Linked DNA regions of Homo sapiens: region 1 is linked to region 2. The links are contacts of gene promoters, found by promoter capture Hi-C in human tissues and cell types (Jung and others, 2019). All regions are on one chromosome and are shown on one strand. Each heading gives the region's core, a stretch centred on a gene start or on the middle of the fragment in contact. The rest is flanking DNA. Distances are from core to core; before and after follow the strand shown. Region 1 overlaps HAPLN3 (hyaluronan and proteoglycan link protein 3). Region 2 holds the start of RLBP1 (retinaldehyde binding protein 1).

What was found. The method cuts DNA at HindIII sites, captures the fragments that hold promoters and counts their contacts. A contact is called where the count stands out against the background at its distance.
Region 1: a fragment that was not itself captured here is called in contact with the fragment with the promoter of RLBP1 in region 2 in 2 of the 25 tissues and cell types used here (H1 embryonic stem cells and stomach).

The regions. Positions count from the first base shown.
Region 1 is chr15:88,877,425-88,880,186 of GRCh38, forward strand. HAPLN3 (hyaluronan and proteoglycan link protein 3) reads right to left here. Exons shown (of 5, transcript NM_178232.4): 4 at 1,543-1,845; 5 at 1-832. The coding sequence ends at 546. Among named protein-coding and RNA genes, the nearest start is that of HAPLN3, 17 kb to the right of the region's middle. RefSeq lists an enhancer at 1,126-1,701. The HindIII fragment of the contact is 7,012 bases long and covers 1-2,762 here.
Region 2 is chr15:89,219,732-89,222,835 of GRCh38, forward strand. RLBP1 (retinaldehyde binding protein 1) reads right to left here and starts at 1,848. Exons shown (of 9, transcript NM_000326.5): 1 at 1,804-1,848; 2 at 6-128. The HindIII fragment of the contact is 12,253 bases long and covers 1-3,104 here.

The DNA of each region.
Region 1 (2,762 bases), core at 23-2,522, 340 kb before region 2:
GGGGAGGGGAGTTTCTTCCTTCCCTCAGCTTTCGCCTGGAAGCCTAGAACTGGCTTCCAGCCCTAGCCCCTCAGTGGGCAGACTGGGGTCAGCGGCTTCACAGAGAAGTAGAGGTGGGCAGGAGAGGCCCAAAGCCCAGCTCCGGAGGCCCCCGAGGCCCTCTTCTTCCCCCAGGCTGAGGGGCAGGGAGAACTGTGCCCACCATGCCCGGACTCCCGGCGGCATTCTAGACAGGCCACCGCCCACTCTGGGCACCAACCTCCTTAAGGGAGGGAGACCAGCCTGGATGGCGGGGAACCCTCCAGAAGCCCACAAAACCGCAAATGGCCCAGGGGAGCAAGCATGATTCCTGGAGTGGGGCATCCAGGAGCAAAGGGAGGCATTGGGTTCTGTTTGCTTTACAAAAAATAGTAAAAAAATGTTTAAAGAAAATTTAAATTGAGAAGTATAAAAACAGTTAAAATGGCTCCAACCCACAAGGGAAAACGAACCACTCAATAAATACACAGCCAGTGAGGGAATGCGGCAGGGGAGGGCCCCAGGTCCTAGTGCTGGCGGTAGCAGTAAACACCGTACAAGCGGCTCTGCGGGTCGGGGAAGCCAAAGCTTCGGACCCCAGGCTCTGGGGGCCCACAGTTAGGATGCGGGTGAACCACAGGGTAGCGGACGCTACCATCTGCCAGCCAGCCAGCGTCGCAGCGGTCCAGGCCATGGAACTTCCAGGCGGCAAAGAGCTGTCCCACCTTGGCGATCGTGGCATCATCTTCCTGGCAGGCCTCCCTTGCCTCTGTCAGCGTCAGCTTCTCAGGGTGCTCCAGGTAGTACACCCGCCCTGGGGGAAAGGGGGCGTGAGTGCCGTACAGCGCAGGGGGCAGCCAGAGAGCACAGCGGGGTCTGCAGAGATGCCAGCCCCAAAGACCCGTCTGAGCCCAGGGAGCTACCATACTGCAGGCATCTGCAGAGAACACTTTCTAATCTTCACCCTGTCCCAGAGAGCTCTGTCCCACCTGCCATAGAACCCAGGTCCCTCCAGACATGTCTGCACTCCCCCACCACCCTTCCCTATTTAGGTGGGTGGGCACCCCACCTAGGCTGGACCAGTCAGAGTCTCTTGCCCATTCGGTCATTTACTGAACACCTACTATGTGTCAGACACTTTTCCAAGGGCTTGGCATATGACACTGAACCAGTTTCTGTTTTTACTTGTTCATCTTCCTACGAAATGAGCTGCTTTGTGAAGACAGGCTGTGTTTTATTCGTCTGTGATTCCCGAGAGCCTAGTCTAGGCCCCAGCATATGGTAGGCACTCAGTAAACATTTGATGAATGAAGAAACCAATGATTTATGCCCTGCATAACGCAGCAGCAGCAAAGCACTCAAAACTCAACCAGATGCTGCTTCTAGGGTGGCTGGTGCTCTTGGCCTCCAGGTGGCAGTACCAGCAGAGCCAGCAGAGGGGGCCAGAGCTCCCCAGAAGCTGCCCTCTCACAGGTCCCAGGTGGCCACCAAACCCACAGGCCCGCGCTTGGCTATTCCACTCACCCTTGAGGGCAGTAGCGAAGCAGAATACATCATAGCGGTGCAGGCGGCGGTGGCGGGGGCCGTAGCTTCGCACGCCAGGTGCCAGGCCCGGGCCACCGCAGGGCTGCCGGGGCAACATGATGGGGTACTGCACCGTGGCATCCTGCAGCCAGCCCGCGTTGCACCAGTCCAGGCCCTCCTCCCAGGCCCGGAAGAGCTGCTCAAAGGAGGCCACCACCGCAGCCTGCTCTGCACAGACCTGCTGGCCCTCGTGGAAGTTGAACTGGTAGCGCCCGTTGGGGGACTGGTAAGGAAAGACCACACCTGCAGGGGAAGGAAAGAGGAGCTTAGGGGGTGGCCAGGGGCCCAGCTGGCTGGACACCCCGCTCTCCTCCCACCTTCACTGGGACATGTGCTGCCTGCAACACACACACATACACCATCCCTCAGAAAAACTCAGCAAACCTCTGACCTCCTGTCCGTTGCCGCCTCTCTCCTGGGACTCAGCTGGTTCACAGCAGTACTCAGAAAACATCCATGAGTTAAGGTAATTAATTAGTCCATTAATGTCCCCAACAATGTCCCCAACCTAATCCGCAAGGCTGTCGCCAGACCCCCAGTGAGGCTGTGCCATCTTCTCCAGACAGGCCCGGGCTTTGGGCTCTAGGGGCCAGGTTTGACTCCCAGCTCCCCACTCGTTAGCTGGGACCCGATCGTCTACGTTATTATGAATGTGGAAATTTCCTAGGAAAATGCAAGGAACTTTCCACGTGTGGCAGATGATTTTCAGGAGAAGGAGAGGCCCTAGAGGCCGTGGGGAGAGGGTTGGGGAAGGGCCTTCCATAAAGGAGGCTCAAGGGCAGGGAGGTCTGGGGCAGGCGGTTTCTCTCCTTGTGGTCAGGGTCTGATAGAGGCCACAGGCCCTGAAAAGATATGTTCGTGTTTGAAATTTTACTCTAATAAAAAGTTTTTAAACTTCTGAGATGTAGTCTCTACCAAGTCAATGAAACCTTAGGGAGTGGAGGTGACCCTAGGGGTCTGGGAAGGACACTTTGGAATCTCCTCCGTGTGGCCAAGGACCCAGGAACAGCCTGAGCCCCAAACCTCCGATCTCACCAGGGCCGGAAGCCAGGCACCTGGGCAAAGCCAGGTTGGGCGGCAGAGAAGCCCATGGGCCCTGACAGTCAGCTTGCAGCCTCTACGTGTGTTTGCAGGGGGACTATTTCATGCCTGGTTCCACC
Region 2 (3,104 bases), core at 598-3,097:
CAGACCCAAGTTGTGACTTCCTGTCAGGACCAAGAGGCAGCCTGCTGTGGCGCAAAAGTTGGACCTGGGTTCAAGTTCTTCTCTTCCACTTGCAGGCTGTGAGATTTAACCCCAGTCTTGGTTGTTCCCTGTAAAGTAGGATGGAAGTGTTATGAAATGTAATGGACACATAAGCAATGCTTGGTTACCAGAACAGGTCCCATTCATGGCCCACATGACAACCTGCTTCCCCAGTGGGTATTTTTGGAGACAGCTCTTCTGTTTCCAGGTTTTCTCTCCTGCCTAAATGTCCTGCCTAAGTGCCTTCAAGAACCCTTCACCATCCTGCTCCTGCATGTGACCAGGTTCCATGGTCAGTTCAATCACCTAGTCACAGTTGGTAAGTGACAGAGTTGGGACTTGAACCTATGCCTGCCTGACACCAAGTCTTTTTTTGACACCTAGAGCCAAGACATCTGAAGACAAACTCCCTAGGAGAGCTGGCGTCATAGAAACCTTAAAGGTTAGGGAGACCTGGGTTTGAATCAGGCTTTGTCAGTTATGACTTGTGTGACCCTAGCAAGTTATTTAACCTTTCTGGGTCTCAGTTTCCTCATCTGCAAACTGAGGATAATAACAGTACCTACCAAAAAGAACTGTCGTGAAAACCATATAATTTCTGCAATGCTCCTGGCACAGTGTCCTGTTCTAAAGCATAGTTCCCCTTCTCTTTCTTAGCTCCATATTGATTATTACCCTAACTTGCACAAAGAGACTTGGAGGACCCCCATAGAGTATCGGAGGGTCCCCCATTTCCTGCTCTTTCCACTCCACACCCCCAGCAAGCACAGGGAAGTTCTGGGGGCCATAATCCACCCACAGGAACCAAATCTAAGCCACCTTTCTGGCTGGTAGACATCCAGGTATGTGGGCACAGAGGTAGACAGGCTGAAATGCTGCTGTGCTATCAGTTGGGTTTTGCTGGAACAGGAATGGAAATGGAGAGGCTGACAGAACTGCCCTGGGGAGCCCAGGCAAGAGGGACAGTGGCTGGACACCCCCAGCCAGTTGTGCAGACCATCAGAACAAGATCCTAGATTTTAGGAATACAGGGTTCAAGTCCGTGCGGCAACTCTTTTCTAAATATGCCCAAGCCATTAACTTTGAGTTTTAAAAATACTGATTTACAAGCTGTACACAATGAAAAAATGCCTATCCCTCACACCATGCTGATGCTGTTCCCTGCCATCTCAGATTACCAATTAAATACAGAATGCCCAGTTAAATGTGAACTTTTTTTTTTTTTTTTTTTTTGAGATGGAGTTTTGTTCTTGTCGCCCAGGCTAGAGTGCAATGGTGCGATCTCAGCTCACTGCAACCTCTGCCTCCCAGGTTCAAGCAATTCTCCTGCCTTAGCCTCCTGAGTAGCTGGAACTACAGGTGCCCACCAGCACGCCTGGCTAATTTTTGGTATTTTTAGTGGAGATGGGGTTTCACCATGTTGGCCAGGCTGGTCTCGAACTCCTGACCTCAGGTGATCTGCCTGCCTCGGCCTCCCAAAGTGCTGGGATTACAGGCGTGAGCCTAAATGTGAACTTTTTTAATACTAAAAAAGTATTTGCTGTTCATCTGAAATTCACATTTAACTGGGTGTCCTGTATTTTTATTTGCTAAATCTGCCATCAAATTGGTCTGGCTCAACCTGGAGAATGGCCAGGTGGTTTCAGTTTTACAGGCATCTTGGGACGTGGTCTCCCTGCTCCCCTGAGTCCTCACCCCAGTCCTGGGCTCCCTGGCCCAGGCAAGCCCCAGGTATTGACTTACCTGCCAGGTCGGCAGCTCCTCCTTGGGGCTACCTGGTACCTGAATGTCCTGGAGCTCTAGAGGTTCCCTCCGCTGGAGGCGTGGTCCGGTCAGCAGGTTGGGATTAGTGTGTCATAAGGAACTTCTCACCGCCCACAGTTTCCGTTAAATCGGGCTCACAGGAGGCCCTCAGTGGGGCAAAGGAAGACCCAGAGAGAAAGGGGAGAGGGGAGAGGCCTGGGCCTGGCTGGAGGCGCATCAAAGCCCTCCTTTGTGTGCTCCTGCTCTGGAGTTCCTGCTCGGCCATGTGGAAGCCCGGCTGTGGGGCTGGGATCTGGGCCAGTCCCATTCCCTCTTTTCTCTGCCCTCTTTCTCCTCAAGATCCCGGGGTGGGGTTGCTGAGAGAGCACCCCCCCCCCCCCACCACCACCACCAGGGTAATAAGAGGTGAAGGGAAATCGTAAATATGACTACATCTACAGTGGCAGCTCTGGCAAATCCAGGCCTATTGCCCACCCCTCCCCCAGCCAGCAGGACCTGGCATGGTAGTTTTCACCTCTGCAGTGAGTGGGGTCAGTTGAGAAATGTGGCTGGTTAAGGCCAAGCAGGGAGAGGACAAGACAGGCTGAGCCTCCTTCTGGGCAGTGTGGTGCAGTGGCATGCCCTGGAACCAGACTGCCCGCCTGTAAAGCCTCGCTCGAGCATCTTCTGGCCGGGAAACATGACTTCAAAACTCATCGGCTCAGTTTCCTCCTCTAAGAAGTGTAGAAAACTAGAGGACCAGGCTCATGACTTTAGTGCGGATGAAATGGCAGTAAAGTGCTTAGTTCAGGGGTTTAGCTGCCTGACAATAAGTCCTCTGGAAAGGTCAGTTACTCCAAATACAGTATCAATAGGTGCCTAACTGGAGGGAACTTATTATTCAATCCTTTGTACAGGAAGAAACCCCTCTGCAGCCTCTCAACAGGTAACTTCCCAGCCTCTGTTTTGCTATTCCACTGGATGAGGAGGAGGTAATTCCTGTAGAACATTTTCTGTCTAGGATTCCAAGGGCGGGAAGCTCCCTGTTTCCATTACTGGGGAGCTCTCCTTGTTTAAAACCTCATTGTTGGTTTGAGCCCCAAGCAGCTTCCTATAATGACCACCCTTGGTCCTGGTTTTGCCTCCTAGAGGTGCCCAGGAGAAGGTCAAGCTCCCCTGCACAGGTCGCTCTCCAGAATCCAACCCCAGAAGTGCTTTTTTATTTTCCCTGGACATAGTTCTTGCTTTTCCACCCATTCCTACTTTGGCAGGTTTGGGATTTCTTCCCACCACCCCATCTC